Regions from separate parts of the Homo sapiens genome. Here region 2 is linked to region 1. The links are contacts of gene promoters, found by promoter capture Hi-C in blood cells and fetal thymus (Javierre and others, 2016). All regions are on one chromosome and are shown on one strand. Each heading gives the region's core, a stretch centred on a gene start or on the middle of the fragment in contact. The rest is flanking DNA. Distances are from core to core; before and after follow the strand shown. Region 1 holds the start of ZMIZ2 (zinc finger MIZ-type containing 2). Region 2 overlaps CCM2 (CCM2 scaffold protein).

The links. The method cuts DNA at HindIII sites, captures the fragments that hold promoters and counts their contacts. A CHiCAGO score of 5 or more calls a contact.
Region 2: a contact is called between a fragment that was not itself captured here and the fragment with the promoter of ZMIZ2 in region 1, in 1 of 17 cell types (monocytes). The highest score is 5.3, in monocytes.

Annotation. Positions count from the first base shown.
Region 1 is chr7:44,744,239-44,750,245 of GRCh38, reverse strand. It overlaps ZMIZ2 (zinc finger MIZ-type containing 2), which reads right to left and starts at 1,399. Exons shown (of 19, transcript NM_031449.4): 1 at 1,255-1,399. RefSeq lists silencers at 1,095-1,144, 1,155-1,264, 1,375-1,904. The HindIII fragment of the contact is 22,932 bases long and covers 1-4,417 here.
Region 2 is chr7:45,022,946-45,028,303 of GRCh38, reverse strand. All of the region lies in intron 1 of CCM2 (CCM2 scaffold protein), which reads right to left. Among named protein-coding and RNA genes, the nearest start is that of CCM2, 25 kb to the right of the region's middle. RefSeq lists enhancers at 26-95, 698-747 and a silencer at 1,138-1,207. The HindIII fragment of the contact is 9,674 bases long and covers 1-5,358 here.

The DNA.
Region 1 (6,007 bases), core at 150-2,649:
AACAGCTGAAGGGACAACCTTAACCTGGCATCAGTTTACAATGTGTAAGATGGATATCTGGTAGCATCCTAGGACTGAGGACACATGACCACCTTCATGTCATCAGCCCTTGGGAGCTCAATCCCAATAATCAGGATGCTCCCCAAACATCTTAGGCCTGTCCTTCAGAAATCTACAACCGGCAACTGTCACCTGCTTGTTCTCTTCATTTACACTTCCAGCTTGTAACTATCCCCTGGGCATGACAAGGGCTAGAGGTCAGTACCTCTGGAAGTTAAGATTCCTTCACTTCTCCTGTTTCCACACTAAGCATCAAGGGATGCCCTCTGGTTCTAGCTTGCCAGAACTTGGTGGTGAGTCTGTGTCCATCCTATCCGTAATCACCACGGTCTCAGACCAAGTCACATGTTCCGTGTGTGTCCCTGTGAAATCTGCGATGACACAAATTAAAGACACCACCATGGATGTTCTGTAATACTGGAAAGAGGGTACCCTAGGGAGAAGGAGAGGCAGAACACTGCAGGGCAGAGGGTCCAGGGAATGGGAGGAGAGACACGGTAGGTGGAGGGGTAAACAAGGCACCGGGTGGGGGTGCCGCGGTGAAGGACACCTGGCACTAGGGAAGACAAGGCACCTCAGGGGAGCAGGGCATCCTCACGCCTGAGCTTCAGTATGTCCAGTTTGGAAAGGGGTGTCCCCATCAAAACTGGCAGCTGGGGGCTGGCCGCTCAGCGTCGTTCAGCCCAGGAGCGGAACAGCTCCTCCGCGAGCAGGTGACGGCCTCAGACGGCCCCCACATCGCCGTGCTGGTGGGCACGTAAGTAGGAGCGGAGGGGCGTACCATGTAGGTGAGACTGCCTGGCCCCAAAGCTAGGAACGATCAGGTTGGAGCGAAGGCCCGGCCAGCCTTCATCGCTCAGGAGAACCCCGAGCGCCGCTTACACCCCTCGGCCAGCCTCCAACAAAGACTCAGGGGAGGGCTGGATGACCCTGACGCCCACGGGGCCGAGCCTGCCCAAGACCACGACGCACGCGTGGCAGGTGCCGGCAGGTGGGCGGCAGAGCCTCTAGCCCCAGCCCAGCTGTGAACCCTACCGTGGCGCCGCAGCGGAACCGGGGCGCCCCGGGCGACCAGCTACACCTGCCTGCCCGCCCGCACCTGCCGGCCCGCACCTGCCGCACCTGCCTGCCCCCGCCGGCCCACACCTGCCTGCTGGCGGCGTTGCCAGGGGCCACCCCCAGGACCCCGCTCACCTCCGCCCGGCCTGGCCCGGCCCCTCGCCGTGGCGGCCCCCGGCCCGCGCCGCTCCATGCGCTCAGCCCGCCCTCCGCGCCGCCCGCCGCCCCGGGGCCGCCGCCACCCGCGCCATCGCGCCGCCGCCCGCTCCGAGGGCACAATGGAGCCGCCGCCGCGCCGCTCATGCATATGCATGACGCCGCGCAGCCGGCCCCGCCTCCCAGGCCAGAGCAGCAGAGCCCCGAGCCGGCGCTCGGGGCGGGGGCGGCCGCGAGCCCGAGCGGCCCAAAGCGGCAGGGTGGGGCCAGGGCCGCAGGTGGCTGGGCGGGCAGGAGACGCAGCCTGATCGCGACCTGCGCCCCCAGCCCCCTCCACACCTTTCTGAACGCGGCGTCGGCAGAGCCACTGCGCTCTTCCTGCTCGCAGTCCGCCGGGAGCGGGGCGGGGCCGGGCGGCGGAGGCGGGGCCAGGACGCCGGGGCGGGGCCGAGTGGAAGGCGGGGCCAAGGTGCCGGGGCGGGGTCGGGAGGAGGAGGCGGATCCAGAGAGCCGGGGTGGGGCCAGGGCTCGGGGCGGGCCCCGGCGGAGGAGGAAAGGAAGAGTGAGTCCTTGCCCTTCCCCCACCCGCCCCGCCCGCGCCCCGCCCGCGCCCCCCCTGCTTCCTGGGAGTCCATTGCTCTGGCCCGGCGGGCGGGGACACGACTGGGAGACAGAGAGACCCAGGGTGCCACTTTTGGGAGGGGATCTTATTAAAGGACTCCGGAAGCCCCTCGTTAAAGCAGAAAACTAAACTTAACAAGTTCGCTGTCCTCACTGCTCAGTTCTCTCTTCCCAGTGGTTCTCCTTCTGGAAAAAGTCACTATTGAGCTAGTCTAGCCTGATGGAATAGCCTCTCTGATCAGTTTCGATCTTTGAAATGCTATTATCAGCCTTTAAGTTATTCTTGACTTTTCCTACCGTAAGTTGAGGAAGACCACATTCTCTCAACTACCCATAATTAATTTTTCTTAATTGTGGTAAAATACACATAACGTAAAACTTACCATCTTAACTGTTTCCAAGTGTAGTTCTGTGGCACCAAGTACATTCACATTCTTGTGCAACCACCAACCGTCTCCAGGACTTTTTCATCTTCTCAAATGGAAACTCCATACCCAGTAAACACTAGCTCCCCATTCTTTCCTCCTCCTAGCCTTTGGCATTCACTATTCGTCTCTAAATTAGACTACTCTAAGGACATCGTATAAGTGGAATCATACATTATATGTCTTTTTGTGACAGTCTTACTTTAGTTAGCACAGTGTCCTCACTTCCATCCATGTTGTGGCATGTGTCAGAATTTCTTTCTTTCTTTCTTTCTTTCTTTCTTTCTTTCTTTCTTTCTTTCTTTCCTTTCTCTCTCTCTTTCTTTCTTTCTTTCTTTCCTTCCTTCTTTCCTTCCTTCTTCCCTCCCCTTCCCTTCCCTTCTTTTTTTTGACGGAGTCTCACTCTGTCGCCAGGCTGGAGTGCAGTGGTGCAATCTCGGCTCACTGCAACCTCCACCTCCCAGGTTCAAGCGATTCCCCTGCCTCAGCCTCCTGAGTAGCTGAGACTACAGGGGCACGCCACCACGCCTGGCTAATTTTTTTGTGTGTGTGTTTTAGTAGAGACGGGGTTCATCATGTTGGCCAGGATGGAATCGATCTCCTGACCTCGTGATCCGCCTGCCTGGGCCTCCCAAAGTGTTGGGATTACAGGCGTGAGCCACGGCGCCCAGCCCCTTCTTTCTTATGGCTGAATAATATTCCATTGTATGCATATTCCACATTTAAGTTATCCATTCATCTATCAATGGATACTCCACAATTAATTTTTGACATTGTTGAAATTTCTTCCCTGAAGGCCGCCTCTGAACTCTGTGCTCTATTTCTTTTGGGAATCATTCGTTCATTGAACAAATATGGCAGGCCTGCTGTACAACAGTCCCTGGTCTGGGGTCTGTGAACACTGGTCTGTCCCCAGGAACCAGGAGAATAAGGCCCCTCCATCCATACAGCAAGCATGTTAGAGGGGACAAACAGAAGGAAATGAGTTAACAGGTAACAGTGTGTCTGTCAGAAAGAGTGTTAGGAAGAAAACTAAATCAGGGCCAGAGAATGGGGAGGGAGTGATGAGGTATGAGGGACGGATTCTCTGTGGAGCTGGCCCTGAAGAAGAGACCCAAATGAAGGGGGAGGCAGGCACCAGGGGACCCTGACCATTCCTCTGTCTCGGAAGAGGCTGCATGTATGGGGGAGTTGCAGGCAGGTTTGTGGAGGATGCTGGAAGTGGCCACGCCAAGCATCCCAGGTGCCCCCAGGGCAGGCATCTCTCTCACCTCCTAACTGCTTCAATAATTCCTGCCCTGCTCCCCTGGGAAAGGCCACCTGGTGTCCACTCCTTTCTAGGGAATGTTTTCATTTTCTACTATATGATGAATTGTTAAGAAAGTCTTCCTTGAGGCCGGGCACAGTGGCTCACGCCTGTAATCCTAGCACTTTTGGAGGCCAAGATGGGTGGATCACCTGAGATCAGGAGTTCGAGACCAGCCTGGCCAACATGGTGAAACCCTGTCTCTACTAAAAAATACAAAAATTAGCCAGGCATGGTGGCGTGAAACCCTACTCTACTAAAAATACAAAAATTAGCCAGGTGTGGTGGCATGCACCTGTATTCCCAGCTATTCGGGAGGCGGAGGCAGGAGAATCGCTTGAACCCGAGAGGCAGAGGTTGCAGTGAGCTGAGATCGCACCACTGCACTCCACCGTGGGTGACAGAGCGAGACTCTATCCCCCCACCATCACCCCCCCAAAAAAAAAAGTTGCCTGGCGCGGTGGCTCACGCCTGTAATCCCAGCACTTTGGGAGGCCGAGGCAGGCAGATCACGTGAGGTCAGGAGTTCGAGACCAGCCTGGCCAACATGGTGAAACCCTGTCTCTACTAAAAGTACAAAAATTAGCCGGGCATGGTGGTGTGTACCTGTAGTCCCAGCTACTCGGGAGGCTGAGGCAGGAGAATTGCTGAACCCGGGAGGTGGAGGTTGCAGTGAGCCGAGATCACACCACTGCACTCCAGCCTGGACGACAGAGTGAGATTCTGTCTCAAAAAAAAAAAAAAAAGTCTTCCTCATTTACTAGAATAAAAAAACTGCCTTATTGAAGCTTTTCCTCTACAAGTGCATAAAATAAGAATCATCACTTTGTTATTTGACAGCTCTTCAAATATTAAAAGCAACTTCTCAATCCCCCAGTCTTCTGTTGGAGGAATAATGCTCCCAGTTCCTTAAGTGTTAACAGTAACACAATTTTCAGATCCTGTACCAACTGGCCACTCTCCTTTAGACAGGCACCAGTTAGACAATATCGCTTTTAAAATGTGACACCAGAAAGGGAACCTGATATCCTAAATGTAATCAGCCTAGCCCAGCGTCCAGGGGCTCCTGCGAGTCCACAGTCTCCTACAGTTGGTGTGGCCTTAACCTGAATTTGGTTTTTAACCAGTTTGGGTACCCCCAGTTACTATGACTCTTGACTTGCAAAACTAACTTTAAAAAGAAAAAGGTAGGCCGGGCGCAGTGGCTCACGCCTGTAATCCCAGCACTTTGGGAGGCCGAGGTGGGCGGATCACGAGGTCAGGAGATCGAGACCATCCTGGCTAACATGGTGAAACCCTGTCTCTACTAAAAATACAAAACATTAGCCAGGCATGGTGGCGGGCCCTGTAGCCACAGCTACCTGGGAGGCTGAGGCAGGAGAATGGCGTGAACCCAGGAGGTGGAGCTTGCAGTCAGCGAAGATCACGCCACTGCACTCCAGCCTGGGCGACAGAGCGAGACTCCATCTCAAAAAAAAAAAAAAAAGAGAAAGGTGCTGCTGCTCCTTTGCATACAAGCGGTATATTCTCATTGTGGAAAATACAGAGAAATGTTCAAAATACCTTAAAACTGTTCAGAGATAATTCCAGTCAATTGTTTGCTCTGTTTTTTTCCCAGATGGTTCTCTTTGCATATCTTGATGTTGTGGAGAATATGGCATATGTATGATTTTGCATTCTTATTTTTTCACATTATCAACATAAACATTTCCCTTACAAGCATTATCTGTGTTTCTCACAAAATAAATACTTCAAAGATTTATTTACAAGGATGTTTGCTGTGACATTAGGATATTGAAAAATTACACACAAGCTGTATTCATTCATTCAACAATTTTCTGTTGAGCTTCTACTGTGTGCCAGATACCACTCTCAGTGCTGGAAACATGGCAGTAAGTAAAACTGATGAAAATCTGCATTGTCGTGGAGCTTGTGTTAGCAAGCTAATAGTTACATCCTAGTAGGTAATAGTTAAGTAGAACGCACCCACAGGTTGGAAATCATGTTTTTGAAGAATATTTAATGGTATGAGCAGACAGTCACAATTTGCTAACTGAAAACATCATACAAAGTTGCACAATGCCAACATCTTTGTTTCCTGAAAAGCCTTTACGGAGCACACAGTCTTCCCACAGGCCTCTAATTCATTATACGGGGAGAAAGGAACCTTTATAATAACATTGGTCAGACACTACCTTAGCAAAATGACCAAGGTCAACAACACCAACAGTGGGACCATTTGACATCCTGGGTACCTGATGTGATACTCAGAGAAAAGATACAGACTCCTTCAAGTAGAATTTCCAGCCAGAAATGTTCAACCTGAATCTGATCATGAAAAAATAAGACAGATCTACACAAAGGCTCAGTCTCCAGCACT
Region 2 (5,358 bases), core at 1,998-4,497, 280 kb before region 1:
GCACCTTAGTGCCCACAGGAGGCCACACTGGCGGTGGCCAGGATCCATGCTGGTGGAGTCTCAAGCAGAACCCCACTAGTGTTGCAGGCTTCGTGGATGAAATTCCAGCTTTGGGTGCTCTCTTGCTTGGCCATCTCCCTACATCATTTTTCAACCAGGCTCTTGGGTCCCGACCACAAATCCATAGGAAAATTACTTCTCCGTGGAAGATGTAAAACCTGTGGCTTCTTCTTCCTTGAGTCAAGATGGATGAATCCAACAACCTATACTCCCCACCTGGGTGGAACGGCACTTCTCCATACACGCCCCTTGCCACAGGGTCTCAGACCAGGAAGCCAGCAAATGAACCCTCCACCCACCCCATCCTCCCAAAGCAGGGGTCATGGAGACTGGGCTACCCTAGCTCACAATGGGCAAGCCCTGGGAAGCAGCCATGAAAGCCACCCACAAGGGACTCACACCATCATCATTCTAAATGGCGCTTTCCACACTGGACTTGCACCTACCTCATTCTCCATGGAATACCCTGTGTGAAATTCTGTTTGAGGAATTTCTTTGGAGAGATTCTGGTTCCTCCTCTGCCGACAGCTACTATGCATTCTCTACTCACTTCTGAATTTGTTGAAAAATATGGCCAGATGTTAGCCCTCCCTCTGAAAAAAACATGACTGAACAGGAAGACCAGAAACCACAGCTTCCTTCTGCAAAGCCACTGAAGCTGTTTACAATTTTTTAAAAGTTTAAAAAGCAGGCAGCACCCAGAAACTGTTGGCAAAATCCAAACAGTCTGCATGCACAAAAAGACACAAAGTAAACCAGCTCATTTTCCCTACTTCCCACAGCACGCGAACCCCACAAGCAGCCTCCCTGCATTTCCAGCAGAAATTCTGCAGTCAACAGAAGGACATTAATTTCAAAGTCCACCATTCTGCACATTCAAATGCCAAAGCTAAACAAGCAGACAGAAAGCACTGTGAGGGGCTACCATTTCCTGGAGACAACAGGCCGTGCTGTTGGTGAAGACCCATGGTACCTGCCTCATACGAAGGGTGGAAACACGCGACAAGGCTGTTCCAGTTACCCCATTTGCAGTGCTTGCTCAAAGGCAGCAAGATCTTTACAGAGATAACTCCATTCCCAGGTGGGGCTTGGGCAGGGCACACCGGGCTCTACGGGTCCTCAGCCTACAAGTGCCTCTACCTGCCTCCAGGACTCATGAGTTTGAGTCAGCAGCACTTTGAAATTAAACAGCGTGCCTCTGGCCAAGCTCACTTCTTCAAGGCAAATTTCCTAATCTAGAAAAGCAGAAGTTGGATCTGTTGCTGGTGAAGGCTCTTAGAACTCTGATAATTCCAGAATGGCTTGCAAATAGGGAGGGCTACTTAATTAAATATTCTGGTTGGCTGGGTGCGGTGGCTCATGTCTGTAATCCCAGCACTTTAGAAGGCTGAGGCAGGTGGATCACCTGAGGTAAGAAGTTCGACACCAGCCTGGCCAACACGGTGAAACCCCGTCTCTACTGAAAGTAGAAAAATTAGCCGGGCGTGGTGATGGGCACCTGTTATCCCAGCTACTTGGGAGGCTGAGGCAGGAGAATCGCTTGAACCTGGGAGGCAGAGGTTCCAGTAAGAAAAGATAGCACCATTGCACTCCAGCCTGGGTAACAGAGTGAGACTCCATCTCAAAAAAAAAAAAAAAAAAAAAAATCTGGTTAGAGTGACTATATTCACAGATCAATAAATAAACATAACAATTACAATATAATTTTTTAAATATTAGGTTGAACCAAATCAAAGTGCTGATTTTCAACAGTGTTTTGGCTATAAAAATGGTACTTTCATACAATTCTATTTCATTAACCTGTAACAAATAAAGTTTAATATTTCCTGATTCCAAAAAGACTGATTGCTTCAGAATAAAATTTAGTGCTTCAATTATTATTCCATATACCACAGATGTAGAAACTGTCATAAAGTTGGAAAAGCAGCATCAGAACTAGATTTGAGTCAATATCCGGTATTAACTGGACTGTCACTTTCTGTCTTTAAAAACCAGAGTAGAGTCACAATTTCAGATTGCTCCTTCCTAAAAGTTGCCTATACAGGGCAGAACCAGCTGACCCTGACCTTCAGGTAGGCTCAAAGGGAAAAAGGCAAACCAGGAGGGAGATACAGAAAGAGGTGCCACTCAGCTGAGCAGCCTCACCTCTATTTTGGCTACTGCAGGGAGGGGAAGGATTCCAGGGAAATAGACATGACTAAAAAGAAAACCCACATGCTCTGAACACTAGTCAACCCCAACCTTCCCTCACAAACACAGTGATCCCCACGGTCAGCATGAGAGAGAAAAGCCAAAGAACAAATGGGAAGAGACAGGCACAGGAACCTACATTCTAGCTAGTATACTTAGAGACACTTGAGAAGAACTGCATCCATAAAATAAGACTAGATAGCTATGAAAAAGAGAAAACGGCCGGGTGCAGTGGCTCCCGCCTGTAATCCCAGCGTTTTGGAAGGCTGAGGTGGGCAGATCACCTGAGGTTAGAAGTTTGAGACCAGACTGACCAATATGGAGAAACCCCGTCTCTACCAAAAACACAAAATTAGCTGGGCGTGATGGCGCATGCCTGTTAATCCCAGCTATTCGGGAGGCTGAAGCACGAGAATCACTTGAACCCAGGAGGCGGAGGTTGCGGTGAGGTGAGATCACGCCATTGCACTCCAGCCTGGGCAACAAGAGTGAAACTCCATCTCAAAAAAAAAAAAAAAAGAAAAAGAGAGAACAGAGAACAAGAAATATATCTTAGAAATTACAAATATGACTGCCAAAATAAAAAATTCGTAGAATAATAACAAGGACATAGCGGAGAGCCCAAAGAATGATGTGAAGGAGAACTGCGGGGTTGGCCAATGCCTGCCTGCTGCTGATGGCCACAGCTGCAAATGTTTTACAGATGAACATTTGCCACCAATTCGATAAAGGGAATCACCAACTTTGAACCCTGATTAAGCAAAATGTTAGCCCCCAAAAAGAATTCCATTCTCAGTAGTAGAACCATATTACAAAAAATTGTACTCAATTATTATACCTTGAATTTCATCAATAAAAAAATTTACGAAAATTTGCTTTCTCTCTTATATAAGTACCTACTTAATGGCCTCAATTTTGCCCCCTGGCCCACACAGCCTGAAATATTTACTGTCTGGTCCTTTACATGAAGTTTGCCAACCCTGTCTTAGAACATAAAGTGAAAAGGTAAAAAGTTTAACATGAGAAAAATTAAAGGCCACAGAAGCTGGGTCCATCGAGTCTAACAGTTTCCTAAGAGGAGAATAAGAGCAGGCAGAATCAAAGAGGGACACAAATATCAGAAGACAACAACGATGAACTCAATTTTATGGACAGAAAAAGCACAGTAACAAGTAGGCTGAATGTAAGAGACAAACCCTCAACATTTAGACTCATCTTCACAAAACTGCAGAATTTCAAGAGAATCTTAGGTTTCCAATAAGAAAATGCAAAAAAAAGTACCTGTAAAAGCAGTAAGACTCAGATCAGCATCAGATGTATCCTGATAAATGGGAATATGGTAATCCCTTTAAAATTCTGTGTGGAAATTAATTTAAATCTGGAAGTTAATTTAAAACCAAACTGTCAATCAAGGTGCAAAATAGTTATTTTCACACCTGCAGTGCCTTGGGATCTTTACACTCTAAAAACCCCCTTTTGAAAAACATACTAGAGGATCTACTCCCAGCAAAACGAGGATCATCCAAGAGAGAAAAAGATGTGGACTCCAAGAAACAGTGGAACCAACCCAGGAAGCAGAGAAAAGAAATCCCAGGGTGACAATGACAGTGTTCAGCAAGCAAACAAAGGAAAATCTGTAAGATTCCATTATGTAAACTAAGAGCCTAGAAGTTCTTGACGATAAAAACATGTTTCTTGGGCCTTGACTAAGGGCTGGCCTGGACATGCAGAGATGAAACTCCACAATGCCTACAGGTAATCATTTAATGTTTGACTGACTGCTGAATGGTGATGCCAGAAGTTATTATCAGCTGAAGAGTCTTTCCTGAACATTATAATCAGCTGAAGAGACTTTGCTGAACTGGCTACTCAGTAGAAATCCAAAAAGTCCACACTTTAGGTGTAAGGAAAACACCCAGAACTAAATTCAAAACTGATACAGAGGCCGGGTGCGGTGGCTCATGCCTGTAATCCCAGCACTTTGGGAGGCCAAGGCAGGAGGATCACCTGATGTCGGGAATTCGAGACCAGCCTGACCAGCATGGAGAAACCCCCAACTCTACTAAAAATACAAAATTAGCAGGGCGTGGTGGCACATGTCTGTAACCCCAGCTACTACGGAGACTGAGGCAGGAGGATCACTTGAACCTGGGAGGCAGAGGTTGCAGTGAGCCAAGATTGTGCCATTGCACTCCAGCCTGGGCAACAAGAGCAAAACTCTGTCTCATAAAAAAAAAAAAAAAAAAAAAAAAAAAAAAAAAAAAAACTGATACAGAGCTATCAAAATAATGACTAAACAAAGATGCACACGACAAAAAAAAAAAAAAAAAGATTTCCCAGTAATCTCACTGCCTACCATAATAAAACTGAATCTCATTCACAATAACAAGGCATTCTCTAGAAAAAGGCTGAGTAAACTCTACCACACAGGCAAGCCACCTGTTTTTGTAAATAAAGTGGGGTTTTCTTGTGTTTTGTTGTTGTTTTTGTTAGTTTTGTTTTTTGAGACGGAGTCTCACTCTGTCATCCAGGCTGGAGTCCAGTGGCACGATCTCAGCTCACTGCAACCTCCACCTCCCAAGTTCAAGCGATTCTCCCGCCTCAGGCTTCCAAGTAACTGGGATTACAGACGCGCAACACCACACCCGGCTAATTTTTGTATTTTTAGTAGAGATGGGGCTTCGCCATGTTGGCCAGGCTGGTCTCGAACTCCTGACCTCAGGTGATCCACCCTCCTCAGCCTCCCAAAGTGCTGGGATTACAGGTGTGAGCCACTGCACCCAGCCGTAAATAAAGTTTTATTAGAACATTTAAAAAAAGAAGTCTGGGCCGGGCATGGTTCTCTCACTTATAAGTGGGAGCTAAACTATGGCTACACAAAGGCACACAGAGTGATATAATGGACACTGGAGACTTAGAAAGGGAGAAAGTGGGAGGGAGGTGAGAGATGAAAAATTACCTACTGGATACAATGTACGCTTTTTGGGTGATGGGTACACTAAAAGCCCAGACTTGCAGGGTGAGGTGGCTCATGCCTGTAATCCCAGCACTTTGGGAGGCCGAGGCTGGTGGATCACTTGAGCTCAGGAGTTCGAGACCAACCTGGTC